Regions from separate parts of the Homo sapiens genome. Here all the other regions are linked to region 5. Evidence: promoter capture Hi-C in 16 types of primary human blood cells and fetal thymus (Javierre and others, 2016). All regions are on one chromosome and are shown on one strand. Each heading gives the region's core, a stretch centred on a gene start or on the middle of the fragment in contact. The rest is flanking DNA. Distances are from core to core; before and after follow the strand shown.

The links. Contacts are between HindIII fragments. The CHiCAGO score rates a contact against its expected background, and 5 or more counts as called.
Region 1: a contact is called between a fragment that was not itself captured here and the fragment with the promoter of PARP12 in region 5, in 1 of 17 cell types (monocytes). The highest score is 5.2, in monocytes.
Region 2: a contact is called between a fragment that was not itself captured here and the fragment with the promoter of PARP12 in region 5, in 5 of 17 cell types (monocytes, fetal thymus, naive CD8 T cells and 2 more). The highest score is 11.7, in monocytes.
Region 3: a contact is called between a fragment that was not itself captured here and the fragment with the promoter of PARP12 in region 5, in 6 of 17 cell types (fetal thymus, activated CD4 T cells, naive CD4 T cells and 3 more). The highest score is 8.4, in fetal thymus.
Region 4: a fragment that was not itself captured here is called in contact with the fragment with the promoter of PARP12 in region 5 in 8 of 17 cell types (fetal thymus, neutrophils, naive CD8 T cells and 5 more); the score reaches 9.2 in fetal thymus.
Region 6: a contact is called between a fragment that was not itself captured here and the fragment with the promoter of PARP12 in region 5, in 2 of 17 cell types (erythroblasts and non-activated CD4 T cells). The highest score is 5.7, in erythroblasts.
Region 7: a fragment that was not itself captured here is called in contact with the fragment with the promoter of PARP12 in region 5 in 1 of 17 cell types (M2 macrophages); the score reaches 6.4 in M2 macrophages.

What each region holds. Positions count from the first base shown.
Region 1 is chr7:139,583,945-139,587,829 of GRCh38, reverse strand. HIPK2 (homeodomain interacting protein kinase 2) reads left to right here. Exons shown (of 15, transcript NM_022740.5): 13 at 3,766-3,885. LOC105375530 (a long non-coding RNA gene) reads right to left here and starts at 2,297. Exons shown (of 4, transcript XR_001745383.2): 1 at 2,212-2,297. The HindIII fragment of the contact is 1,480 bases long and covers 1,802-3,281 here.
Region 2 is chr7:139,600,705-139,604,719 of GRCh38, reverse strand. It overlaps HIPK2 (homeodomain interacting protein kinase 2), which reads left to right. Exons shown (of 15, transcript NM_022740.5): 10 at 497-639. The region is part of intron 2 of LOC105375530 (a long non-coding RNA gene); the gene reads right to left. Among named protein-coding and RNA genes, the nearest start is that of CLEC2L, 79 kb to the right of the region's middle. The HindIII fragment of the contact is 2,266 bases long and covers 766-3,031 here.
Region 3 is chr7:139,622,654-139,626,625 of GRCh38, reverse strand. It overlaps HIPK2 (homeodomain interacting protein kinase 2), which reads left to right. Exons shown (of 15, transcript NM_022740.5): 6 at 1-25. Among named protein-coding and RNA genes, the nearest start is that of CLEC2L, 100 kb to the right of the region's middle. RefSeq lists a silencer at 27-237. The HindIII fragment of the contact is 7,682 bases long and covers 1-3,972 here.
Region 4 is chr7:139,642,339-139,646,084 of GRCh38, reverse strand. The region is part of intron 2 of HIPK2 (homeodomain interacting protein kinase 2); the gene reads left to right. Among named protein-coding and RNA genes, the nearest start is that of CLEC2L, 120 kb to the right of the region's middle. The HindIII fragment of the contact is 6,710 bases long and covers 1-3,746 here.
Region 5 is chr7:140,060,166-140,064,416 of GRCh38, reverse strand. It overlaps PARP12 (poly(ADP-ribose) polymerase family member 12), which reads left to right and starts at 1,466. Exons shown (of 12, transcript NM_022750.4): 1 at 1,466-1,895. The coding sequence starts at 1,570. RefSeq lists an enhancer at 1,319-1,528 and a silencer at 1,539-1,858. The HindIII fragment of the contact is 6,136 bases long and covers 1-3,492 here.
Region 6 is chr7:140,475,793-140,479,757 of GRCh38, reverse strand. It overlaps MKRN1 (makorin ring finger protein 1), which reads left to right and starts at 253. Exons shown (of 8, transcript NM_013446.4): 1 at 253-598. The coding sequence starts at 414. RefSeq lists silencers at 123-232, 523-662, 943-1,022 and an enhancer at 147-987. The HindIII fragment of the contact is 221 bases long and covers 1,552-1,772 here.
Region 7 is chr7:139,560,245-139,564,576 of GRCh38, reverse strand. HIPK2 (homeodomain interacting protein kinase 2) reads left to right here. Exons shown (of 15, transcript NM_022740.5): 15 at 1-3,007. Among named protein-coding and RNA genes, the nearest start is that of CLEC2L, 39 kb to the right of the region's middle. The HindIII fragment of the contact is 2,074 bases long and covers 1,545-3,618 here.

The sequences.
Region 1 (3,885 bases), core at 1,292-3,791, 480 kb after region 5:
CACAGCTCACTGCAGCCTCAAACTCCTGGGCTCAAGCCATCTTCCTGCCTCAGTCTCCCGAGCAGCTAGGACTATAGGTGCACACCACCATGCCTAGCTAATGTTTTTATTTTTGTAGAGGTGGGATCTCACTGTGTTGCCCAGGCTGCTCTCAAACTTCTGGCCTCAAGCGCTGGGATTACAGGGGTGAGCTACCGCACCTAGCTTCCACTTTGTAATTCTTGTACTGGATCTCAGTGCCCTCCCACCCTCTGGGTGTCTCTACTGAGCCCTGATGTACAGCGGCGAAGTGCCCAAGACTCTGAATCTCTTTTGCTTTTTTTTTTTTTTTTTTTTTTTTTGAGACACAGTCTTGCTCTGTCGCCCAGGCTGGAGTACAATGGTGCAATCTTGGCTCACTGCAAACTCCACCTCCTGGGTTCAAGCGATTCTACTGCCTCAGGCTCTGAGTAGCTGGGATTGCAGGCCCCACCACCACTCCCGGCTAATTTTTGGTATTTTTAGTAGAGACGGATTTTCACCATGTTGGTCAGGCTGATCTCAAACTTGTGACCTCAGGTGATCCACCCACCTCGGCCTCCCAAAGTGCTGGGATTACAGGTATGAGCCACCTCACCCAGCCTGGACTTTGTTTTTGATGGAGATAGAATTCATGTACTGTACTGTATAGTTCACCCGTTGAATGTGTACAATTCAGTGGTTTTAGTCTGTTAATTTTTAATTGTGGTAAAATATAAAATTTGCCATTTCAACCATTTTTAAGTGTAAATTCAGTGACATTAATTATATTCATAATGCTGTATAGCCATCACCGTTATCTATTTTCAGAACTTTTCCACTACCCCAACCAAAAACTATACCATTAATCAGTAACTTCCCACTCTCCTCTCCCCTAGCCCCCAACCTCTGGTAACCTCTAATGTATTTTCTGTCTGTATGAATTTGCCTGTTCTAGATATTTCATATATGTAGACTCAAACAAACTATTTGTCCTTTTGTGTCTGGTTTATTTCATTTAATATTTTCGAGGTTCATCCATATTGTAGCATGTATCAGAACTTTTTTTTTTTGGAGACAGGGTTTCACTCTGACACCCAGGCTGGAGTGCAGTGGTGTGATCATAGCTCACTGCAGCCTCAAACTCCTGGGCTCCCACCTCAGCCTCCCAAACAGCTGGGACTACAGGCATGCACCACCATACTTTGCTTATTTTTTTAATTGTTTGTAGAGATTGGCTCTTACTGTGTTGCCCAGGCTGGTCTTGAACCCCCAGCCTCAAGCAATCCTCCCACCTCAGCCTCCCAAAGCACCGAGATTACAGGCATGAGCCACCCCTCCCAGCATTCATTCATTTTCATGACTGAATAGTATTCCACTGTATGGATACACCATATTTTCTATTCATTCACCAGCTGATGGACACTCGGGTCGTTTCTACCTCTTGGTATTTTGAATAGTGCTGCAGTGAACATTGGCTTACATGTATCTGAGTACCTGTTTCCAATCCTTTGAGAATGTACTTAGGAATGGAATTGCTATAGGGTAACTCTGTGTTTAGCTTTTTGAGGAACAAGCATATGGACATTTCACATTTAAACTGTCATAACTGGGAGGTGTGGGTCTTTATTAATTAAAATTTATCTACTTTAAGTTAACATGAAGAGCCATAAATATATGCAACCAATTCATTCCTCACCTTCTTCTGAGTTCTTAACAATTATCATCTGTACGATTCATCTGACAGTTAATCACGGAGGCTTTGTGACATCCATTATTCTCTCTAACTGGTTATTTTAAAGCTTTTACTATTTAACTTGTCATGTTGTTATACAGTCCTCCACTGAGATTTTAATCTCCTCGAGGGCAGAGACACATATTTCTTTGTATAGGTATTCCCTGTAGTACCCCGCGTAGATCTCCGAGATATCATGAGTTTTAATTTTCTTTGATTTCAATCTTCTGGTTTATTCATAAACTAGAAAAAAGGAAACTTTTCCAGCAAGTCCTTACCCTGATAGAATTCTCTTTGCCTAAATAAGTTTTTTGCAAACCTGTTTTCACATGTTAACTAAGGTAACACAACTTGTAAGAAGAAGAAGAATAGCAGCTATTATGGAATACTTACCATGTGTTGTGTATCATTGAAAGCACTTGTATTTTCTCACTTAGTTCTCAAAACAAGCCTATGATATAGGTACAATTATTACCTACCTTTTACTGATGAGGCCACTGAATCACTGAGAGGTTAAATAGCTGCCCACCGCCCTGTCACCAGCACATGCCGAAGTTAGACAGCTGACTCCAAGGTTCGTGTTCTCACCCACGAACACGGTTAGGCACCCTGAACCAGAGAGGACAGTGTCCAGCCACTGGAAGAATTATCCAGCCTAGATGTCAGGAGCGCTGGGCGTTGGGGAGCAGGGCCAGCGCCTCCTGGGGACTGCACCCCCCAGATCCCCCAGCCTTCTGTAGCTCAGCAGACAGGCTCTGCTTCTGTCCCTCCTGCCTGGCTGCTGTGGGCTCTGGAATTTGCCCACTTCCCTGCTGCCTCTAGGGTGGTGGAGATCCATCATGGGAAGAGCCTGGCCTGGCTGTGTGGCCTCAAACAAGATACCCGGGAGGTGGCTGTGACTCTATGAGGCTCCGTAAATACCAGCTGCTTCTCTCATCCAATTAGCTGGAAACTGACCAGTTGCCTAGGCAATTTTTATTTCTTAAAAATAAATGATCAATATATAAAAATAGATGCACATTCATTTTAAAGTCTTAAATAAGCACACAATAAACAATAAATTTCACATCCATCATGCCAGCAGCCTCTCACTGAGTTTGAAGACAAACAGAAGTAGTTCCCAAAGTAACCACACTAACTTAAATATCTCTGAACAAACATGCCGGCCAAGAGCTATCCAAAGCCAGTGCCTCCCTATTGTATGAAGTTCCACATATAAGATGAAGGCCAGGGCTTCAGAGTGGCTTTCACACAGCATCAACCTGGCAGGGGCCTTCCCACCAGGCCCCGGTGCAATACCATCTCCCCCGATCCCTTGGCCCAGGCAGTGGAAAAGCTGCAGGTGAGCCTGGCTCCTGAAAAGGGGACTGCAGAGGTCGTAGTGGCCTGCACACAGCCCACAGAGCACACTCAAAGTAAGGAGAGGCAGAGGGTGTCAACTCTAGCTCTGCGTTCTCTGCAGCATGTCTGCACTGTGCTGTGTGCATGCAGCCCCCTCAGAGCCTCACGCTGCATCCCATTGGACATTCTGCTCCCTCCTGCATAAGCTTTGCCAGGCCGCAGGCACCAAACCTAAGCTTATGACATTCTTCTCCCAGCGAGGTTTACTCCTAACCCAGGTCCCCAGGTTGCTGGGTTCTTGCTGGTTCTCTCCTTGCTCAGATGTCCCATTCTGGCAGGCCCACGGGGGTTGTACCCAGCTCTGGGCTGCAGGTGCCTCCCCTGCAGCTCTGCTGAGCTCTGCTGCACAGGAAGAGCCCAGGCCAGCCCGGAAGCATCTCACTCCCTAGTTTCCAGAAGCCCCTGTGGGTCCAGCACCAGCCCCTTCTCCATGTCTTCACATGTCCCCCTGCTGCCGGCTACACAGGGGACTTTTGCATGCCCAGTCTCCCTATGGGGGTTAGGGAGGGCAAAAGCCCTGTTCCTGCCCTCTCCCCTCTGCCTCCCTCCCCTGCCCCAGGGCATGAAGTGCTAGTTGGGTGTCTCACCTCACGGCCTTCTCCCACCTCTGACTTCTCCCTTTGCATTTTCAGCACTGTCTCCAAGCAAAGAAAAAACGTCATCAGCTGTGTCACAGTCCACGACTCCCCCTACTCCGACTCCTCCAGCAACACCAGCCCCTACTCCGTGCAGCAGCGTGCTGGGCACAACAA
Region 2 (4,015 bases), core at 649-3,148, 460 kb after region 5:
ATATATGTTCTTTTTTTTTTTTTTTTTTTTTTTTTTGAGACGGAGTCTCGCTCTGTCGCCCAGGCTGGAGTGCAGTGGCGCCATCTCGGCTCACTTCTTCAAGCTCCACCTCCCAGGTTCATGCCATTCTCCTGCCTTAGCCTCCCAAGTAGCTGGGACTACAGGTGCCCGCTACCACGCCCAGCTAATTTTTTGTATTTTTAGTAGAGATGGGGTTTCACTGTGTTAGCCAGGATGGTCTGGATCTCCTGACCTCGTGATCCGCTCTCCTCAGCCTCCCAAAGTGCTAGGATTACAGGCGTGAGCCACTGCACCCGGCCTGTATGTTCATTGTTTATCTCCCCTTACTTTAGTTTTTGAGGCCAGAGACCAGGCCCTCACTCTCACACCCATGAGAATGTCTAGCACAACCCCAGGCACAGAATAAGTGTGGGTTCATGCAAATCAATTATGTGATTAGCAAACATGGTCATTGCACATGTCCTGTGTTCTACAGCAGGCTTGGCCAAGTGGGACCCAGCAGATCCTGCTTCCCCCAGCATGGCAGCAACTGACTGGAGTGGCCACCCACACATCAGTGCAGCATGCCACCGTGATTCCCGAGACCATGGCAGGCACCCAGCAGCTGGCGGACTGGAGGTAAGCAGGAAACCCCTCTAGGGTGAGTGGGTGTGTCTGGGATGGGAGGCACGTCCACTGCCAACACAGGGCTGCCAGGCTGGCCTGTACTTCAATTCCCCGGTTTGTAGAGAGCTTTTTAAAGCTTCTAAAAATATTGTGTGGACTATGAGTGCAGGGTAACAAGAAGCAATTTTTAAATAATATACCAGGATACAAGAAAATCAGTTTCATTAATTTATGCTTGGTTGTCATTTCCACCCAGAATTCAGTTATGTCATTTACTCATCAGTGTAATTCACCAGACTTGGTTCTGGATGATGTTTGGTAGTTTCTCAGAATTAAATTCTACGTTCAGAAAACAAAGGTCTGTCACCAGTGAAAGAATGCAGAAGAGGGTCCCCAAAGCCCTAAGCAATTCTAGAAAGTGTTCTGAAGATGTTTGAGACGGGGGTACTCTGGAGTCTATCTGACCTCCCACGGGATGGCTTGACAGAATGGGGTTTATTTGGAAGGGTAAATGCTGGCATGTTTGCTGAGTGTGCCTCTTCAGTTAATAGTCATATCTTACAGATCAGAGTCTACTTCCCACACACCCCAGAGGCGTCCACCTGACTGCCTGCCAGCACAGCATACCCCCTGCATCTGTTTCCAGAACTCTACCCTGCCCAACTCATGATTTCCTCACAGATGCGCTCCTCTGTTATTTTTATGGCTAGATACCCTTGTACCTTCCCCCGAACACCACCACAATGGCCCCTTCACCAGTGCAGAGCCAGATGGCAACCCTCCAAGTTGTCCCCAACTCCTCATGGCCCTATTGGGCTATCTCTCATTCTGCACGAATATCAGGACAGGTCACTCCCCTCAACCCCCTGACAGCCTCCATATCACACAGGGAACCTCCCACAGTTCTTATTCTGACCTACAAGGCTATTGTGAATTAAGATCTCTCCGAGAAAAGAAGAAAGGTGGTGATATAAGCCCCCAGTCAGACCCCTACTGCAGCTTCCTCCATTCCTCCAGTTCATTTTCTGCCCAGTACAGAGTACCTGGGCCCTTCCCCACAGTCCCACTCACTTCCCTTCTGGCAACGCCCTCATGCCACCACTCCAGCCTGGGCAACAGAGTGAGACTCCATCTCAAACCATGTAGAGCTGAGTTCAATCCTGGCTCTGCATGACCTGGGGCAAGTTAACCTTTATGCACCTCAGTTTCTTCTTCAATAAAGTGGGGATAGTAATGCCTGCTTCACAGGATTGTTGGGAGGTTTAAAGTAAGATAAAATACAAAGCACTTGGCCTATATTTAACATGCACCATCGCAGTGCCCGGTACATGACAGGCATTAAATAAACCTGTCATCTTCCCTCCCCACTATCACATCGGCCCATGCTCAGCAAGATTGCCTTTCCTCCTCCAGCTCCTTAGGAGCAGCCGAGTGGAAAGCTGTCTGACCAACTGGGTTTTTTTTTTTCCCTCGCCCCTTTTTCTCCTAAAAGACCACACACATGACATATTCCTTTTTTTCCCTTTTGTCTTTCAGCATTTATAGCTCATCTAATTTCAGAAATACACATACACTTACTAATTCCTACATATTTTCTTATTCCTCCTCCCTCCTTCCTTTCGTTTTGACATCTCTTACCTAGTGACCACAGGAGACATCTAAAGCCAGCATACTCTCTTCCTGGTCTCTCTCCATTTCATGTGTGAGCCAAAGAACATCTATTATTGTGGCTAACAAACAGAAGTACCAGTGCTAGGCCTGACTCAAAAGAGAAAGAGTGCCACCTGTCTACAGGAGAAAGAGCTACAACAAAATAAAGAAGCCATAATATCAGTTTCTTGGTCGGATGCAGTGGCTCACGTCTGTAATCCCAGCACTTTGGGAAGCCAAGGCAGGCAGATCACCTGAGGTCAGGAGTTTGAGACCAGCCTGGTCAGCATGGCGAAACCCCGCCTCTACTAAAAATACAAAAATTAGCTGGGCGTGGCAGTGCACGCCTGTAATCCCAGCTACTCGGGAGGCTGAGGCAGGAGAATCGCTTGAACCCAGGAGGCAGAGGTTGCAGTGAGCCGAGATCGCACCACTGCACTCCAGCCTGGGCAACAGACTGAGACTCCATCTCAAAAAAAAAAAAAAAAAAAAAGAAGCCATAATATGAGTTTCTAAAGTCCATGTAAATGCCCAAAAGGCGCTATCAAAATCCCTACAAAAGTGTTCATCTACTTCTTTTTTCCTGTTCATCCTTTTCCCCATGTTGCAACAATAGGTTCTTATAATTTTCTAAAATTCAAATGAATTATCCTTTAGCTTTGAATTTTATTATGTGTTAAATGAGCTCTTATGGGCCAATCTCTGAGTCAGTCACCACCTTTAACATTTCTGTGGGAAAACAAGGCTTTAAGCTTCATACAACCCAAATTATAAGAATTGTGAAACATAACCCGTTTTTAGGATGAGGGCTGCCAGTATTTCTATCATGACTGTTATTAATTTTGATTTAATACCAACTTTATACTTGTCTAGTCAACCTTCAGTTAATCTAATTATTCATTCAGCAAGCGTGTAATTAATTGATCAGCTGCTATATGCCTGAGCATTGTTCCAGCCACTGAGGGAATTCAAAAGAACATTAACACTTCCTAACACCAGAAGCATATGGCTCCCAGGCTTCAAAGTTTGTTTTTCACGTAAAGTATAATTTCTTCTTTAATAAAATGGTATTGCTAAGATATCCTGCCTACGTCACAGAGTGGAATAAAATAACCCATTGAAGACACTGTGTAAATTCCGCTTTTTCTTCATTTAAAAATTTTTTTTATAAAATTAAGGTGAAACTTTTTTTTTTTTTTTGAGACAGTGTCTCGCTCTGTCACCCAGGCTGGAGTGCAGTGGCACAATCTCGGCTCATGCAACCTCTGCCTCCCAGGCTTAAGTGATCCTGCCACCTCAGCCTCCCGAGTAGCTGGGCCCATAGGTGCACCCCACCATGCCCAGCTAATTTTTTGTATTTCTGGTAGAAAGGGGGTTTTGCCATGTTGCCCAGGCTGGTCTCAAACTCTTGAGCTCAAGCCGTCTGCCCTCCTCGGTCTCCCAGAGTGCTGGGATTACAGGTGTGAGCCACCATACCTGGCCTGTAAATTCTAAAATAGAATATTGTTCAGGATAAACACCTAGGTGCTCAGGGACTTTAAAAGTTGGAGGGAATATTTATCTCCAGTCCCTAGAACTTAAAAACTTGGAGCCGGTGTACTTGGCATTCTTCCCACTTGAAAGTCCTCTTTCTCACTCACAGCCAGTTATGTTTCACCTACTCCTTATGAGTAGAAGAAACCCACCCGTTGAGCACACATGGCCAGGCTCATCCCTTCAGCAGCTGCACAGCTAGTGA
Region 3 (3,972 bases), core at 272-2,771, 440 kb after region 5:
TACTCGATTTTCCCCACAGCACACAGTAGGTGTCCTGCCTGATGCTTCGTACCAGGGATCGGCAAACTTTAAAGGCCCAGACACTAAATATTTTAGGTTTTGCGGCCATAAGGTCTTGGTAACAACTACTCAGCTGTCACTGTAGCTGAAAGCAGCCACAGATGCAATACATAAACAGATGAGTGAGGCTGCATTCTAATGAAACATTTATGAAAGTGGGCAGGGCTGGGCGTGGTGTCTCATGCCTGTAATCCTAGCACTTTGGGAGGCCCAGGCAGGTGGATCACCTGAGGTCAGGAGTTCGAGACCAGCCTGGCCAATATGGTGAAACCCTGTCTCTACTAAAAATACAAAAATCAGCTGGGTGTGGTGGGGCGCACCTGTAATCCCAGCTATTTGGGAGGCTGAAGCAGGAGAATTGCTTGAACCTGGGAAGCAGAGGTTGCAGTGAGCCGAGATCGCGCCATTGCACTCCAGCCTGGGCGACAGAGCGAGACTCCATCTCAAAAAAAAAAAAAGGAAAGAAAAAAAGAAAGAAAGTGGGCAGTGGCTGGACTGGGTCCCTGGCCTGCAGTTGGCTTCACACTGAAAAGGAGGGAAGAGGAGAGCACAGAGCTGGATGAACCTGACTCTGGGTATCTGTGCAGGAAGAGAGGTGCCCGAAACGGTAGTCTCTGTAGCGCAAAACTAGTCTCAGGGCCAAAGATTGCTCCCAGAACCTTCCCAGAGTGGACCCAGTCTAGTTTGGGTTTGGATTTGTTCATTCATTTCTTCAGCGTGCTGTGTGCCGGGGTACAGTGGTGAGCAGAGCAGACGGCCCTGCCCACTGGAGCTTGCAGTCCGTAAGAGAGAGAATGGTATAAAACAAGTGATGCCCAAATCACCAGGCTGCTATGAGGACAAGTATCAGGTGTGATGAGAGCATACCCACAGGGGAGCCTCATTTTGGGGCAAACCAGGAAGACTCCCAGGAAGTGGCCTGTGAAGGATGAGGAAGAGGATGGGCATGAGCAGGCAGGGCATTGCCTGTATGGACAGGACACTCCCCCATGGGCAGGACCATGCACCCATCCCAGAAGGCAGTAGGTGAGACAGTGAGGCATCCAGTCAGCCAGGGCAGGCCGTACATGTTAAGGTTTTTAATCTTGATCCAAAAAGCAATGGGAACTCATTAAATGATTCTTCAGCAAGGGAATAGCTGGTTAGATCTGTGTTGAGCAAAGATCTGTCTGCTGCCACACAAGTCAAATGAGTCTGGAAAAAAATGTCCATTCGGTTTAACAACTCACAAGTTGTCAGTAACGCAGTGGCAGCCATTCAGTGGAGTGGTAAAAGCAGAAACCAGTTTACCAGGTTGAAAGACCAAGTGAGAGGTGAAGAAATAGCAACCTTTCATGAAGTGAGGCTATGCAAGAGAAGAAATAGAGGGGTGACTGGGGAGGGGTCAAGGGGATTGTTTTTAAGACAGGGTTCAGAGCACAGGGATGGGCCAGTGTCATTGGAAGGATAGATGGACGAGGGGCATGTGGATGTCAGCGTATGTGCTGGTCTCATGGAGAAAAGTTGAGGGAGTCCTGTCAGACAGCTTCTGCTTCTCAGAAGTAGGCAATGAGGTTATCTGTTGAGAACGAGGTGGAGGGTGGTTTAAGAAGGGTAGAAAGTTTAGGTAGCTGGAGCAGAAGGTGGCAGAGCAAACTGACCAGAGAAATACGGTGGAATTGTTGAGCCCTGAGGTTCGACATGAATCGTTTATAGTGTAACTCATCTCCCCAGGTGAAGGCATAGAGAAGACAGATGAGTCTTCTGATCTAGGTTTGTCCAGGTGGAATTTTTGCCAGGCTGGTAAGAGAAGAAGACAGATTGACAAGGAAGCTGATGAGGCTAGCCAGAGAGTAACTGTAATCCAGAATGATGTCTATTGGAGACTTTGCCCAAAGGGAAAGGAAGTGAAGATGGGAGGGGATCCAAGTAAACGTGGTGTTCTGGTCAATGCAGAGAAGGGTTATCATAGTCATAGTGGAATGAGCCAGATGGAGGAAGAATGTGGCTGGGAAAACAGGATGCTTAAACTTGTAGTTTCTGGAGGTGGAGCAATTTCAGGTTTGACGGTCCAGGGAATGAGTGGCTGTACTGGGTTGAGAACAAGAGTCACTGGACATGAGAAGTAAGCGGGAAGCCAGGGTATTTAAAAAGGGACCTGTGACTTCTGAAGCCTTCCTAGCGAGGCAGGGAATGGCTTGGAGAGGAAGGTCCAGCCAGTGGCAAAGGCCTCAGTGAACGAAGGGGAGAGGAAACGAAGTCATGGCCGGTTGCAGTGGCTCACACCTGTAATCCCAGCACTTTGGGAAGCCAAGGAGGGCGGATCAGCTGAGGTCAGGAGCTCAGACCAGCCTGGCCAGCATGGTAAAACCCCATCTCTACTAAAAATACAAAAATTAGCCAAGCGTGGTGGCCGCACTTCTGTAATCCCAGCTACTTGGGAGGCTGAAGCACAAGAATCGCTTGAACCCAGGAGGCGGAGGTTGCAGTGAGCTGAGATAGTGCCACTGCACTCCAGCCTGGGCGACAGAGCGAGACTCCGTCAAAAAAAAAAAAAAATAGGAAGCCGTTGGTGGATGGGAAGGTAATGGAGGGTCTCACTTCAGCCTCTCAACCCTGAGGTACTTGGGATGTAAAAGAATAAATAATCACATCCTACGTCTGCAGGGAAAAGGGGTGTGCTCAAGAGAGCAGCAGATTCTATAAGGATCAGGAGGGGAAGGGAATCCTGTGAGAAGAGCCTGGAGATGTGAGAATTGTGCGTATCATGGCGGGCCCTGCTGTCTCCAGAGTCAGAGGGGGCTGGGTCTCAAGGCTGGACCCGCCCCTTTCTGGCCTACAGGAAGTGAGTGGGTGGCACCACCATGGATAGTGGGGCCTCCATTTCATTTCTGTGCCTTACTATCAGTGAAGCAAGTCAAATGGCATTGCAACAAACAGATAGTGCCTCTTTAATGTAAAACCATGCTTGAAACAACTGAACTCCGGTACAAAGGAATCTGGACCCATCCCTCCCCTACTCTTGTTATGGGATTTGTCCTTTTTTTCTTTTTTTTTTTTTTTTTTTTTGAAGTAGAGTCTCACTCTGTTGCACAGGTTGGAGTGCAGCAGTACGATCTTTGCTCACTGCGTCACTGCAGCTTCCACCTCCCAGGTTCAAGCGATTCTCCTGCCTCAGCCTCCCGAGTAGCTGGAACTGCAGGCACACGCACCACACCCGACTAATTTTTGTATTTTTAATAGAGACAGGGTTTCCCCATGTTGGCCAGGCTGGTCTCGAGCTCCTGACCTCAGGTGATCTGCCCGCCTCGGCCTCCCAAAGTGCTGGGATTACAGGCGTGAGCCACCGTGCCTGGCCTGGATTTGTCCTGTTTCTGAGTGCCATAGGGGTCAGCCACAGAGCTGTCCATCTGTACCACAAGAAGAAGAAAAGCAGACTTGGCAATTTACTGGATAGGGCTCCCATGATTTCAGTCTTTTGATATCACGGGTAAAATGGGATGACTGAGAAACAGCTACGGATAGGAGACTGAGGATAGGGGTGCCCTCTACAGAGGTCCTCTTAGCCGTCTGCACCAAAACAGTCAGATAGTCACCCCCATAAAGCCTGGGGCTTTAATGACCTCAGAGTCCTTCCACCTCTGGGTTCTGTAAGGAAGAATCAGTAGAGTGTTTCACGGCTTGGTCACATGGAGACCGTGAGCATCAGCAACCAATTCAGAACTTCATCTGGGACCCAAGAGGGGCACTGACAAGTCAGAACTCAGAAATTAGCCTAAGAAGGAAAGGTGGGTCTCTGAACACACCTAGGCTTGCCTGAAAGTAGGCCTGATCCCTAAAGTTCTCTAGAACTTGCTGGGAAAACCTTGAAGAACTCCAGGGCAAGGATAAATCTCCAGGCCCATGCAGCTGTAGCGCCCCTGCCCTGGGAGC
Region 4 (3,746 bases), core at 1,202-3,701, 420 kb after region 5:
CCAGCTTAGTATTTCCTCTGTGACCCAAACACAAGAAGGCAAACTTTGGTTTGGTTTGGTTTGGTTTGTTCTTTTTCAGCTCCTTTAAGAAAAGTTGAGTGTTGGAAGGTTTCCCCTGAGTAAGCTGCCCTTGGCTGGAGACCTGGAGTTTATGCCCATTTTGTTTGGCAAGATCTTCTTGTTCCTAACTCCTGCTGGAATAACCAACCAGTCACCGTGAGAGCTCGCTCTTGTCCGGACCACAGCAGGTCCTAACCAGGAGTGCTGTGAGCAGACGGGCCATGGCCACATTTACTCTGTGGATGCTCCCTGCTCTAAAATTGGGTAAAAAACATACCCTCAGTGAGTCCTGTTTTGCTGGTTTGATGGCGTGCACGTCTCCAGAGAGCAAGGCCAGCCTCATCCACCTGGCTCCCCTCACCGCACTCACACCTGCCTGCTTAGAGTCAGGCCGCATCCTGTACTTACAGGATCAGAGCCTACTCCATCGGCCAGGAGTAGTGGCTTTATTTGGAAAGTTGCTTAGGTAGGGTATTAGTGGGTTTCGGCCCTGCTTTCTCAGTAGTTTTCCACCTAACACACAGTGCAGTGGGGGAGACCTCCTCAGACGATACCTGTTTTATTGGAATATCCCTTAGGCTGCAATGGAAATTCACTCTCTAACTTGTGTTTGACATTTTTACTGAGTGGGTTCCTTTTCATAGCTCAAGTTTCTGGCTTCTGTTCTCTTAATTGGTATGTCTCCGGCTGGTGACACTGAATGTATCTCCCTTTCAAAGAAGGAGCAAGTTTCTGTCTTTTATCCCAGACTGTCAGCCATAAAGACTGACTGTGACTTAGCTCCACAAGCCACATGATCAGATGGTGCTGTAAGGAAAGAAAATACCCCAAAGATGAGCCTTGTCTATGGCACAGTCACTCATCTGAGAGTTGGGGATTCGGGGCTTCTCCAGTGGAGGCACTGGGAACCTTGGAAAGGAAAGCATCGTGTTTCTTCTGCCTGTTGTTGGTTCATTCATTCATCCAGCAAACACTTATTGAGGCCTCACCATGAACCAGTCGAAGCTAAATGTTGAAGCAATGAGAAGTTTTGCATTTAAATCAGTAAAGTTGCACATAAGTGATGTTACTTTCTTAGTATGCATCCATCTAGAGTAGAGGGTGAACCTTGAATTAATGTGTTAGTGTGGAAGAGACCAGCCTTTTCCCCAGCCTCACATCTCATGATCACTATAAGTGGGTAACATCACCAGGCTGAATAAAGTGAAGACGCCACATCTGCAGTTGATCCACAGGAATTGAAATTCCAAATCCCTTGCCAGTGCAGAGAAAAGAAGAGTGGTCCCAGAAAGCTGAAAAGTGACAGCAGGTGACAGTGGGACTTGGGTTAGGCCTTCCCAGAATCAGCAGGCTTCCCAACACAGCTCTAAATGCCCAGTTTCAACCCTCGGCTTCAGTCAACAGACTAACAATGAATCGGAAGAAAAACAGTCAACAAAAGGATCCATGATGAGGACCATCATAAAAGAATGGCTGAGGCCTGGCTCCTTTCTCAGCCACTGTGTTGGGATTCCCAGCCTCTGGCCTTTGCGCTCACCTGGGCAGGAGCCTCATCTGAGCACAGTGGCAGAGCACAGCGAGGCATGGGGGCTGCCACACCGATGTGCACCCATACCCAGGCTTGAGTGTGCAGGCTGCATGTCACCTCCCACACATGGTGACTTCAGAGCCCCTTTGAGGAGGAGGGACAGCGGATGGGAGGAAATACCACAGGGCTTTTGTGATGTTGACAGTGCTCTGTTTCTTCACCTGGCTGGTAGTGACACTGGTCTTTGTTTTCCAATAAGTTGTTAAGGTATACGTTTTTGTTGTATACTTCTTTGTATATATATTCTCTTTCATAATTAAAAAAAAAGATAAAAACATTTAAAAAGAGCCTGGAGCAGTATACATATGAAAAGATTACATAGATAGGCACCTGCAGAGACACATGGTTCCATTTCTCTGGCTGATAGGTGCTTCTGCAAACATTTGTTGAGCACATTCTTTGACAAAAGTCACCAAGCATAAAGCGTGGCCTGGTGACACTGTAGTCTGGTAGAGTGCTGGGAGGTCAGAACAGGCTTTCTCCAGCAACGCAGAGCTTCATGGTATAGCACCAGAGACCAGATTGGGGGATATTGGGCCACCCAGGCCAGGGATGGGTAAAGCAGGCACAGCACGTGTCAGGAGTATAAGGATCTCAGGAATTACAGGGCAGCGTGAGTATCTTTGAAATACTTATCATGGAGTCCAAACTGGTTCTTCTAGGAACCTTCCTCATTGACATTACAATTCATAGTTTTCTTTTTTTCTTCTTTCCTTCCCTTCTTGCTTTTCTTATTTCACCAAGTCAAGTCAATATCGTTTAGGTGGATCCATGTCCCTGGCTGTACTTTCTTCACTTTATTCTACATGCACAAGCACATAACCACAAATTTAGAGGCCAGTATGCTCTGGACATCTGAGAACTGGTTTCCAGTTTGCACCAACATCACCAGAAGCCTTTGGAGATTATATTCATTTCAGTTGCAGATGCAACCTTCTCCTCTGGCATGTAAACAAGTGAGTTAGATTTTGGTGCTACGCTTAGCAGAGTTGGAGCAGGACTAAGAACGAAGGATCAGTGTGAAAATGTGTGTGTGTGTGTGTGTGTGTGTGTGTATTTAGTACATATTCAGAGCCAAGATGTTCACTGCCAATATGAATAGAAAAAACCGCCAATCTGATTCTAACATTATACAGGGAATGGCCAGTTGAATCAAGGAAGCCTGCATCCTTTAAGAGACTGTCCAAGTGTGCCATGAGAATGATGTCAACATCTAGACCCAACTGCAATTATATCAACCTCCATATGGATATGATGGTTCATTCTGAAGTCTTCAGCACTTGTATTGGTGATAGCTGAAGATACTCAGTTATGACAGAATCATCAGTGAGGGTCTGAAATGATCCTCCTTAGCACACAGTTTTATGGACATCAGTAGCGGCCCCTTAGGTAGAAAATCTCTGCAACAGTGGTTCTACGTGTATTACATCAAGCTGCAACCACCCAGAAGTTTGGGTGTCGTGTCTGTCCCCCCAGCTCTCCTTTTGGAGTTGGAACCCTGTTCCCTTGCAGCAGCTCTCCACCTTAATTTCTTCAGCTTATAACCAGGCAAAAGTACCCTGCTGCAGAGTGCACAGAGATCTTGGGGTCCACGGTGTTTGGCTTGGCCATTCCAAGGATGGCTCCGTGGAAGCCAGCGCAATGGGTGGGCCCCTTGTCAACCTCCCCCATGTTTTGCTCCTAGAGCTTCATCTCTGGGTCCCTTTTTCCTTTTGCTTGTCTGCCTATCACCCTAATCAAAGACAAAACTATTTCTCTTTGATCTCCTGTTTGCCTAGGAAGCTGTGTGTCTTTTTAAGAATCCAATCACAGGTTGACCTGGGATTAGCTCACCTCAATGGCCATCTACATCTCCACTTGGACCTTCTGGATCCCCCTAGGCATGGTGTGGATTCATCCTGTGGGGAGGCTGCCCCTGTTTTCCCAGCAGGCTTGCCTGTGGTCACAGGGCGTGTTGTCTCTCCATGCAGCTGCCCCGAGGTGCTTTCCAGCCCTTGCCTTTCTGGCTGTCTTCTGTGCAGCTCTCTCTTACCTCTGGCTCCAATTCCTCTGAAATAGCCTCCTCCTCCTCCCTGCTCTTCAGATTTCTGCCACTGTT
Region 5 (4,251 bases), core at 217-2,716:
TACCACGCCCGGCTAATTTTTACGTTTTTAGCAGAGACGGGGTTTCACCACGTTGGCCAGGCTGGTCTCAAACTACTGACCTCAAGTGATCCGCCCGCCTTGACCTCCCAAAGTGCTGGGATTACAGGCGTGAGCCACTGTGCCTGGCCTATAGTTAAGATTTTTATATTCATTTTTAGTGAATGTTATACCGTATACCGTAAGTACTCTCCCCCCACAATCCTTCTGCCTCTCATCTTCCCTTTTCCATTTTCCTAATACCTCCTACTGCCTCCTCTCAACTACCCTTGTGTGTTTCTTCATCTTTCTCCGTGCTTATTCAAAAATATCCTGCCACACACACACACACAGGCTTCTCTTTTTGTTATTCAGACATTTAAAAAAATTAATTCTTGATCATTCAACTTGATTATTTAGACATTTCTGTACAGCCATCTTTTCTCGTTTACCACCACATCATGGCTGTCTGCCCCTCTACATCCGCACACGGAGCTCTAACGCATGCTTGTTAAACAGCCTTCGTAATAGTCTTTAAAGATCAACCACACTGTTCCCACGTAACCCTACCTCCCAGGTAGGGTTCCCCCAGTAACACTTTCACACATAACTTATTTACTGTTCCTTTTACTTCTGGAAGATTCCGAGAGGAAAGATTGCTGGGTCAAAGGTCACACGCGTTTTCAATTTTAATAGCTATTCCTGGATTACCTCCTCAAAGGGCTCTAACAACTCGCATTGCTCTCAGCGTGTGAGAGGGTCCTTTGCTCTGAAGGGTCTTCTAAAATATTTGTTCAATCGTTACTTAGCAGGGGCTGGGAGTAACGGATTTTATTTTATTTTATTTTATTTTTTGAGACGGAGTCTCGCTCTGTCGCCCAGGCTGGAGTGCAGTCGCGCAATCTCGGCTCACGGATTTGCTCTTTTAAAGGACATACCCTTTTATGTTTAAATGAAGGAACTCATTGATGCACCGAGGCGAAAGGAACCTTTAATTAAGTGCGTCTTCTATGCGGAGTGATCGCTTTTGTCACTTGTTCGAGGGGTGAGAGCTCCCGTCAGTTGTCCCTGTTTCTGTGAGCCGTCTACGAAGCCCGGGCTTGGCCTGGGCGACGCTGAGCGGCTTTAACCGGCGGCGTCCAGCCGGCTCCGCCAGCGCTGCCGCCGCCCTCGAGGCTCCCTCTGACTGAAGGCGCGCTGAGCATCGCGGCATTAGGGGCTCCTGGTCCCTCAAACATCCAGGGAAGCCATTTTCAGGGACTAGGTACTGACCCCCGCGAGCCGCCACAGCCACAGCCCGCGCTCCGGGCCGAACGCCCGAGCTCAAGAGCTCCCGAGCTTCCGTCGGGCGGCGGCCTCACAGCTGGGGGCCCTGAGGCGGAAGGCGCAGCCGCTCAGCTGCGGACCGGGGGCGTGGCGAGGGCGCACAGGTTCTGTTTTTCGCCGGCCCGGGGCCGCTTTCGGTTTCGTTTCCCGCCGGCGTCTCCACCCTGCGAGAGCCGCCCGCCAGCCAGCGTCCGCCGCCGTCCGCGTCGCGCCACCCGCGGTCCGACGGGAGCAGGCCCAGCGGCCATGGCCCAGGCCGGCGTCGTCGGTGAGGTCACCCAGGTGCTGTGCGCGGCCGGGGGCGCCCTGGAGTTGCCCGAGCTGCGGCGCCGCTTGCGGATGGGCTTGAGCGCCGACGCGCTGGAGCGGCTGCTGCGGCAGCGTGGGCGCTTCGTGGTGGCGGTGCGGGCGGGCGGCGCAGCCGCGGCCCCGGAGCGCGTGGTGCTGGCCGCCTCGCCGCTGCGCCTGTGTCGCGCGCACCAGGGCTCCAAGCCGGGCTGCGTGGGGCTCTGCGCGCAGCTCCACCTCTGCAGGTTCATGGTCTACGGCGCCTGCAAGTTCCTGAGAGCCGGGTAAGGCGCCGCGCCGGGAGCGACGGCGGGCGGAGGTCCTGCGCGCCCTCACGCACTTCCAGCCCGCTTGGGGGTCCTACTTGAAGTTTGAGCAGACAATTCGGTGGCTCTGCCCTGACCTCGCACCGTCATTCACTAAAGCGAGCGTTTAATGAGCACCTGCGGAGTACCTGGCACAGTGCGAGGGACTCAGGGTCGAGTGGGGTCCTCTAGACGCCTGGGGGGAGAGAGTGATTTACATAGAGCATGGTAGTGCCGGGTGGAACACCCGGGTGTGGCCGTGTGGGGTGGGGAGGGAGGGAGGCGGCGGCTTAGGGGAACTCCACGACGCCGCGGGTCGCCCCTTGCCAGCTTTGAGGCCAGACAATGAAGGTTTTCTCTGCCCAGCAGCTGGTAGAGATCTTTAAACCCAGTTCAACCCTATTAATCTGCTTACAAACTGGAAAATGCAGACTCCCTGCCATCGCCCACAAGGTCCTGGGGCACTGGTCCCTGCCCACCCAGGACCCTTCTGTGACTGGAACACCCCCCCCCCCCCGGGCATTTCTGGGAGCCTGGGCATTTCTGGGAGTCTTTGCTCTGCCTGGAATGCCCTTCTTGCTCTTGGTTGGCCCTATTTGTTAATCCTTCAGGCCTCAACCTAAAGATCACATCCCATTTGAGGATTTTTCCTCCCCTTACTCTTGGTCACAGGGAACTGTTTATTTTCCTCATGGCACCCAGCTGCCAGTAGAATAGAAACTCCCTGAGGGCAGAGGCTCCAGCTGTCTCCCCAGCACTTAGCGTCCATGTTCTGTGCATAGCATGTGGCCAGTGGGATGTGTGGAAGGGATTGCTGAGGTTTATGCTAAAGAATTTGGGCCTCACCCTGGAGGTGATGGGGCGGGTAAAATGGCAGGAGAGAGCAACCATCAGGTTTGCGTTTTAGGAAGTCTAAGGTAGTGGTGTGGGTGCCAATTTAAGGGAGGATGTTGTGGGGGAACCACTGGGAAGCTAGTCATCAAGGAGAATTCCTTCCTCCCCTGCTCCCTCCTTTCTTGCTTGCTCCCTGTTTTGTGTGTGTGTGTGTATGTTTGTCTTAATAGAGTAGATATTTCTTGCTCATGTCAGGCCCAGTAGTGAGCATGGGGTGGGGGCCTTGATCCATACAGTCATTCAGGGATGCAGGCTGACTGACCTCCGCTCTGTGCCCCTCAGCACATGGCTCTTGAGGCCAGCCTAGGTTATCAAGTTCGAGGGGGCTGATCGAAAAGAGGGATGCATGGGAGGTTTTTGTGGGCCAGGTCTAGAAGTGGTGGATTTCCTTTCACCCACATCCCATTGACCAGAAGCTGTCTCGTGACCCTGTCTAGATGCAGGGTGACTGGGAAATGCCTCTAGGAAGCAGCTGTCTGGAAGTATCTAGATTAGAGCTTTCCAAGGGCTATGTGTGTGAGAAATTTGGGATAGCTGGTGACGGTGTGATGAGAGGATATGTGAGAGGTGACGACTCTTCAGTCTCTGTTCCTGCGGTGGCCTGGGTGTTGTTCACTGAGAGAGCAAGAGAGGGTTTTAGTTTGGAAGCATGCCCAGGAGGCAGCTGTTCAGGTCAGAAGCTTGGGAGGAAGGCCAGGGCCCCAATGCGCTGGGCTGGTTTGGGAGATATTGGGCGGTGTATGTTGTAGTTGCAGCCCCAGGAGTGGATCAGATCTGAGGTAGCGTCTGAGGCCTGAAAAGAGGCTGAGGGTGGAACTCTGGGGAAATCAGCCTTCAGGGATGAGGCAGTCCAGGGGAGAGCAGGGAACAACAGCCCACGAGGAGGAAGGCACACAGCAAATGGTGGCTGGATAGAGCCACTCATGGGGGTAACTGGTAGATCTGTTTCATGTTCATATTTGGTAAAATAAAGATGGCAGCCCTGTTCTTAAGCTAGTTCCCAAAATGTGGGGTCAGGTCTGACTTGTCTCGGAAATCTGTAGTGTGATATTTACTGGCTCAGATGACCTTGAGTTTTCTTCTTTCTTCAGTTTTCTCTTTTCCTTGTGGTTTACACAGGTGAGTTTCTTGAACCTTCCATTTCTGACTCACTTTAGGGAGAGTGGGTGTGGTTGGCTGCACTTTTCTGCTTCCCCTGTGACTCTGCTTGTCTTCCTGAACCGCAGGGTCAGTTCTTTTAGAAATAGCTCATCAGTCCTGCTGCAGAGCTGGTACGGAGTCCTGGGTGCCTGACTCTTAGTCCTCTACTCAGGAGGCATTGAGCCTGGTGGTCTAGGGCACAGTCCCAAGATCCAGCCCACCTTGTTTCAACCTGGGCTCTGCTCCTTGCTAGCTGATGGCTTCGGGCAAGTGACTTTACCTCCAGGTCTCAGTTCCCTCA
Region 6 (3,965 bases), core at 413-2,912, 420 kb before region 5:
AAAGTGCAGATTCAAACCCAGGTCTTCCGACTGCAAGTCCCTAGTCCCCAGCCCCAGCTCCACTATATCAGCCTCTGCTAGGAAGAAAGCCGCTAACTATGGACTTTCGTCGCCGGGGTTTCGAGCCTAGGACACACCTGTACAGACCCCCGTTTGCCCCGCCCCTTTCCGGAGGAGACGTCCCCTCCACCAATGAGCGGCGCCGTGGGCGGGCCGCGGGCGCGCATGCTCTGGGCCCGCAGTTGAAGTGGCGAGAGCGCTCAGATACGCGACGCGTAGCAGGCGGGGACCGAACGGGTGCCTCAGTGTCCTTCCCCTCCCCTCGCCTGGCCTCGCCGTCCTCTCCCCGCAGCCGGACCGGAACTATGTGATCCCGGAAGTTCCGGGGCCTTTGCTGTGTGGGATAAACAGTAATGGCGGAGGCTGCAACTCCCGGAACAACAGCCACAACATCAGGAGCAGGAGCGGCAGCGGCGACGGCGGCAGCAGCCTCCCCCACCCCGATCCCCACAGTCACCGCCCCGTCCCTGGGGGCGGGCGGAGGGGGCGGCGGCAGCGACGGCAGCGGCGGCGGCTGGACTAAACAGGTCACCTGCAGGTAGGACGTTGCGCGGCGGAGCGCCGGGCGCGGGGAGGGGGCCGCGGGCCAAGCCTGCGGCGCGGGAGGGAGGAGGGCGGCCGGCCTGCGGCTAGAGGCGCGGGAGGGCGGGGACCGGCGTTGTCTCGATCTCTGCAGCCCTCGCGGCCCCCGCTGCCGCCGCGTTCCCCCAGTCACTGCGTCAACCCCCGCTGGGCCGCGGAGCCCTCAGCGCTGTCCGCGGAGGCCTGGCGGTGCGCGATTACTGCGGAGCCGCGGGGCTGCACCGCCGCTTACACTTCCCTGAGCGCTGCCTGAGCTGGCTGCGAGCGCATCGGGGAGAGGTGGGCTGGCTCCTCCCCTGCCGCTGGAAGGATGCCCCCGCCGCTGCCTCCGGCTCCCGGGGCTCGGGAGGTGGTCACTTGAGGCCGGTCTCCCAGCGATCCTCTCCGGGCCTAGACACCCCGCCGAGGGCCCCAGCGAGCTTGCCTGGCTCCCGGCCCTCTCCTCTCTCCGTGCCATCCGTTTGTAACGTCTTTTCACGTCCCTCCGTCCCTCCGCCCCCCATCCTCCGCCCAACTGTGAGAAGAAGCTTTTGTATTTCTTCTTTGTATGTTTGTCGAGGTTGGCGGTGCTGAGCTTTGTCTTAGAAGCAGGCGTTCGGGGGCCGGGGTCGTCTTCTCCACCCGCGGTTTTTTTGAGCTGCAGATTATTACCCTCCCCCAGCGCTATGTTCCTCTTTTGAAATTTACGCATCTTCCGAAGGGAGTGAAAGGGCTCTTCGCTCCCGGAAGAGAGAGAGGTTTGGTTTTGGTTTGATATGCGAGACGAAAATATTAGAAAAATTAAGGGATGGCGGTTGTATGGATGTGTATGGTTGTAAAAAACTACCTAGCTCTACGCAGAAGAGGGCATTTAATTGTACGTTTTTTATTTTCCGGTTTTTAAATAGTGATCAGTAGCGACTGTAAGCTTTTCTTTTTCTATCAGTTGAATAAATCAACTGAAATGCCGGTTTTCACCTGGGTGGTATAATTTATATGCAAGTATGTAAAAATGATTCCTAATTAGAACTTGTAGTATTAAGGGTGAAATTTGAAACCTTCCCAGTCTTTGATGTGATACATTTATCCTGGCGACCTTCGAAGGTCTCTCAGCCTTTGATATGATACATTTAAGGTGTGAAGGATAAGCTTAATTATTTTACATAATGGGATGTAGAAAGCATAAACGCAATTTCAGGTCACTTGTCTTATTCATCGGTGGATTGTAAAAGTGGAATATTGCCAGGAATGATGATTTTAAAGTTTCTACTCATGGAGCAAATTATTTGAATATCTGTTTCCCTTTTACAATGCTACAGTTGATCTATATGTGCTAGTTACATCTTTTAAAAGATTGAAACCGGCCTGTCGGGGTGGCTAGGTCGGCGTGGTGGCTCACGCCTGTAATCCCAGCATTTTGGGAGGCTGAGGCGGGCGGATCGCCTGAGGTAAGGAGTTCGAGACCAGCCTGGCCAACATGGTGAAACCCTGTCTCTACTAAGAATACAAAAATTAGGCCGGGCACAGTGGCTCACACCTGTAATCCCAGCACTTTGGGAGGCCAAGGCAGGTGGATCACGAGGTCAGGAGCTCAAGACCAGCCTGGCCAAGATGGTGAAACCCCGTCTCTACTGAAAATACAAAAAACATTAGCCGGGCGTGGTGACAGGCGCTTGTAATCTCAGCTACTCCGGAGGCTGAGGCAGGGAGTTGCTTGAACCCAGGAGGCAGAGGTTGCGGTGAGCCAATATCACACCACTTCACTCCAGCCTGGGCGAAAGTGAAACTCTGTCAGAAGAAAAACAAAAAAGAAAAAGAAAGAAAAGAAAGAGCTTAGATTTACTAGTTTTTGGGGGTTTTTTGTATAGCTTTTGCTTGAGACAGTTTTTTATTGTTGTGCAGATTCCTTGATAGGTCTGGGGTTTTAGTGTTTGACATTGTTTTCGGTTGTTCTAGGTACCAACATGATCTCTTACTTAAAACTATTTTCTCCTTTAGATAGAGGAATGTCAACTATCATTTTTTTTTTTTTTTTTTTGAGACAGAGTTTCCCTCTTGTTTCCCAGGTTGGAGTGCAATGGTGTGATCTCTACTTACCACAACCCCCGCCTCCCAGGTTTAATTGATTCTCCTGCCTCAGTCTCTGGCATTACAGATGCCTTAGTAGCTGGGATTACAGGCGTGCACCACCATGCCCACCTGACTAATTTTGTATTTTTAGTAGAGACGGGCTTTCTCCGTGTTGGTCAGGCTGGTCTTGAACTCCCGACCTCAGGTGATCTGCCGGCCTCAGCCTCCCAAAGTGCTGGGATTAGAGGCGTGAGCCACCGCACCCGGTCTATGATCCTTATCGTTCACTTTGAGCTCTCTGAGAAGAGTAGGGCCCTATTTTATCTGCAGGGCTTTCTTTCCTCAGTTCCTCAGTTTCTTTCCTCAGTTCCAGTATCATGAACAGGATACTCAGTTACTGAGTATCCTGAGCAGATACTGAGTAAATGCTTGAGTGATGTTGATAAAGTCATATACCTAGAATTACCCACTTTAACAGGAACTTTGTAAGATTCCTCTGCTTTCATTAAAAAAAAAAAAAACAAAACTTGTAAATTACCAAAGACAAAGTACTTAACAGAACACATGTGTATCTTCCTTTTTTTTTTTTTTTTTTGAGATGGAGTGTCGCTCTGTCGCCCAGGCTGGAGTGCAGTGGCGAGATCTCAGCTCACTGCAACCTCTGCCTCCTGGGTTCAAGCGATTCTCCTGCCTCAGCCTCCTGAGTAGGTGGGATTACGCCCGGCCACATGTATATTTTTTCTGGAACTACCTTATTCAATCATTCAGTAAGTAAACATTGCACGCCAGCAATGGGAGACACAATATTAGGTGTTCAAGAGAGTGCAGATGTATGTACTGTATTATAAATAAACATTTTCAATATGTTTGCTAGGTAAACATCACCTAAAGAATCAGGTAGAGGTGTGTTTTAGTGTTTGTGCTCATTTCTCCCTATAGCACATCACTCCTGTATCTAGGAATTTGACTAAAGCTATTTTCTTCACTTAGAAGTTTTGATTAGAATGTTTTTAATTGCTCGGAATCACCTGTATTTTCCTACTGGTTACATTTTTTCTAATGTTTCTCCTGGGGTTTTCATTGTGTTTTATACCTTTCCTCAGAAACTGTGTTATGCTGCCACCACCAGGCTGTTTTTCATATCTTTTATTAGAGCAATACTAAGAAACAGAAATGCTCATTGCATCTGCTACCTTGAGTTACCTTGAGTGTGTGAGGTTAGAACAGTTAATACTTAAAGAGAAGTTGTAATTTGAATTTAGACCCCTCTTTAT
Region 7 (4,332 bases), core at 1,332-3,831, 500 kb after region 5:
CATGAAAGGCAATCCAGATGGAGGGAAAAGGTGTGAGTCCGCAGCCCGGGCCAGATGCGAAGGTCTCATGCGTGTCGTCTAAACACTTGTCTTCAAGGCCTTCTCTCTGACATCTTGGAAGAGTCATTGAGAACAGATAACCTGGTTCATTGATTTTTGTCTTGATTTGAATATTTAACTTATTAATAGATCCACTGATTTCCAGGCACCAGGCAGTAGAAGAGACTGGGATTCAGGTGACCATGAAGGCACAGCTGCTACTTCTGGGCCGGGGGTGATATTTTGATCAGCGTTTTGTAGGGGAGGACCATATACCCCTATTCCCATGGTCGCTGGCTGGGTTTTCCATATATCTGCTGTCATTTATTCGTTTTCCCCTTAAAAGCAAAATCAATGTAAAAGGCTATGTTTACGTTTTACTCATTGTCCAGCTTAGACTCAAAGTCTAGTTCGGTGGGAGGGGGACCTTAGCATCCTCTCAGAGATGGTCAGGGCTGAGCAGGAGGAGGCAGAGACAGAGGGGCAGCTCAGCCTGGTCCATTGAGACCCACTCTAAACAGACATCATATTTGGAACAAGAAGATGCTTCGAGACAGGAATGGGCCCCACTGTCATGCAGAAACAGACTGGGGGAATGGCAGTTTCCCTGAGTCTTGGTTTCTTTTATGTTTTCTCTTGTGCCACCACCAAACTGCAGAGGACCTGCTGTGACCTAAAGGGCATTCCTTTAGCAGATAAGACCTTGAAAACTGCAAAACACCTGGGACCAGGGAGCTTTTAAAAAATACAAAAAAATACCACATTTGCTTTTTCCCTGTGAACTGTATTGACAGCGTGTTCTTAGGACAGTCTTTTGGTGGAAATGTTACTGTAAAATAGTTTTCATCTCACCCCTCCTAATCATACTCCCACTTTCCTGTTTGTGTGGTGGTGTTGCTGTTTTTTCCTTTACATGAATTAACCAAATGAATTTTGTGTCATTGTTTTTGGGGCTTATATTTTTAAAACATAGAAATTGCCTTTTGTTCATTTGAAAAGTAAGTATGTTGTATCTGAAAAAGGGCTCTGCCTCTGCTCTCCCTCGCTTCCTTGTAACCAATCTCCAAACGAATCTCTCCTGGCACCGCCCCCTTCCTTATATAGGGTCACTGTCCCCGGGGCCACCTCTGCCTCCACCCTGCTGTCACCACTGCCCTGGGCCAAGGCACCCAGGACTCCCAGAAAGCGCGAGAGCCAGCAAGAAGGCCCCACTCAGCCTTGAGACTGGTGGTCACACCTCCCTGTCAGAGTCGCCTGCTGGGCTGAAGGGGCAATGGATTGTCATTGTTGAAATTGTTTGGCTCAGGTTATAAGGAGGAACTTGGGAAGTAGAAAGTGACTTGACCATGTGCATCCTTGGTAGCTTCCTGTAACTAACAAATGGAACAGAGAGCACACCCCCGCCCCGCCCCACCCCAAGCAGATGTTCCCGTCAGCGCTGCCCTGAGTCAGTCGGTCCCCCGTTTCTGCTCTCCTCCCTTTTGTGTTCCTGCTCACTTCAAGCTTCTTCCATGGACTTTCCAGGGCACAGTCATCTCTAGCCCCCAAATCATCTCTTCATCCTCTGTGTGTGCATTTTTTTAACCAAATGAAATAGACAAGAAAGTCATACTTTGGGGCAGCAGAATTTCTAATTTAGTAGAATCACTGTATAGAGATAGATGTTGATATATATGTTTGTGTATATATATCAAACCAAATTGGATAGGAGAAGTATAGCTTTACAGATGAGGAGAAGGAGCTCTTTAGAGGTCGGAGTCAAGACTGGTGTCTTGGACGTGCATGGGCTGTGTCCCAGGCCACTCCGCACACATGGGGCTGAGGCGTGGCGCCGGGCCCTTGTCATCCACCTCACCACGGCAGAGCCAGCAGGCCCTGTAGGGTGCTGCTGCTGTCTCACTGGGTCCCAGCTTCAAGCGCATCAGTGGGTGACGGGGGCAACAAATCAGAGTGACTGGAAGTTTCCATCCCGTTTTGCTTTGACCACGTGTACTGAGCTGCAGCCTCTGATACTCTGTCACGTTTCCAAAAATGGTATCCATTAGGATAGAAAGAGAATGGATCTGCAGAAATGTTTACCTTTCAACTGCTCATGAATTCAGGACACTGGATAGAAAGACTCACTCCCCAAAATGAGAACAGGGAAGAGGAGACCCGGCGACACTAAGTCACCAGGTCCAAGGAACGTGGCTCCCTCCCCAGGGTCATCTCACCTAGATCTTTCTCTCCCAGGTCATCTCAGCTCAATCTCAATAACCCTATGAAAGCCCTGGTCTGTTGTGTTCCTTCACCGTACGGTTTCTGTAATAAAAAGTGTTAATCCATGTTAATCTGTGTGAAAATTATTGCGTGCAACAGTATTTTCTCGTGTACCTCTTTTTCCTATGTGAATTGTCCCTCTTTTTTATTTATAAATGTCTACTTTTGTTTTTTTAAAGACAAACCAATGTGTTGTAGACCTATATGTAACCTATTCCTTAGTCTCATATTATAGGTATGTTATAAGAATGGATATTTTACTTGGCTTTAGAATGTTTTACAAGAAAACTAATTCTTAACTGATCAAGTCCTTGCTACTAAAATGCTTGTGTTTTTCATCATGACGTCGTGTGCTTCTAAATTAATCATTTTCGTTGTAGAAAAATGGAGTGAATTTATATTAGTCTTGGAAACTAATAATAGCATTGTAAATTTATGAGATGATTTTAACAGAAAAAATATAGAAGAATATAGTTATTTTAATTGTAATATTACTAACTGTAGGGTGAGAAAAAGGGGGGGGGGTCCCATTGTGGTGAACTATGTTATAGCTTGTTACTCATAGTTTCTTTTTGATCATTTTTTCGGTCTCCGAGGTGAAATGACTTATTAATTAAAATTTGTAAACTCACATATGCATATTGTATATGTGTAGAAATGTAATCACACTTTGTCTTGGAATTACATTAAACTGTTTGAAATCACTGTACACCTGCCTGGCATGCTTATTTATCCTGGAACCAGACCTGTCATAAAAGCGAAGAGGTTATTGTTACAAGTAACATATTTGGGGTTTGTTTGTTTATTTAGATGGAGTTTTGCTCTTGTTGCCCAGGCTGGAGGGCAATGGCACGATCCTGGCTCACTGCAAACTCCGCCTCCCAGGTTCAAGTGATTCTCTTGCCTCAGCCTCCCGAGTAGCTGGGATTACAGGCATGCACCACCACGCCCGGCTAATTTTGTATTTTTAGTAGAGATGGGGTTTCTCCATTTTTTGGTCAGGCTGGTCTCGAACTCCTGACCTCAGATGATCCACCTGCCTCGGCCTCCCAAAGTGCTGGGATTACAGGCATGAGCCACTGCGCCGGGCCGAGATTATTTAATGGCTCTGGAAATGTGTAGAAGCCACCACTGCATTGAACATTTGCAGAGAGAGGTGGGGGGCCTTGAGATCACATTACTACCAATTCCCATGCAGTTGAGTGGGGCTAAGAGTCTCCCAGCTTCCTGCTGCCTCTTCCAAGCCATTTCAGCCCCATCTGCTCCCAATCTCTGTCCCTGACACCTAAGGTGTGGCTGTCACCTGCTGTCCTGGAAGCTTTCCAATATGCATCCCGGATCCTCCGCACCCAGGCCCTGCCGTCTCACCAGACACCATCAGCACCCGGAGCCTCGTGGCTTGCTGGCCCATTGCCAGGGCCCTTGCCACTGCGCACTTGAGCTACGTGCGCCACAGCCCCGTCCAGGCGCTGTGCCTGCAGCAGCTCCACCTCAGCAAGCCTAAGAAACGCCACATCCTGCTGGGACTGGGGTTTCCCAGCCTTCTGACACTCTTTTTGTCTTAAATTATGGTAAAATATACATAATATAAAATTACCATTTTAAGTGGACTACTAGCAACGTTAAATACGTTCACATTATTGTATAGGTGTCACCACCATTTCCAGAATTTTTTCATCATCCCAAACACAAGTTCTGTCCCCATTAACAACTCCCCATTTCTCCCTCCACCCGGTGCCTAGCAACCACCCTTCTACTCTGTCTCCATGAATCTGCCTATCCTAGATATTTCATGTAAGTAGAATCATATATTTGTCCTTTTGTGTCTGGTCTATCTCACTTAGCATAATGTCTTTAGGGTTCATTCATGTTATGGCATACATCAGAATTCCATTCCTTTTCATGGCTGAATAATATTCCATTGTATGGAGAGATCACATTTGGCTGATCCATTTATCTGTTGATGGACATTTGAGTTGCTTCCACCTTTTGGCTGTTGTGCAAATGCTGCTGTGAACATTGGTGTGCAAAAGA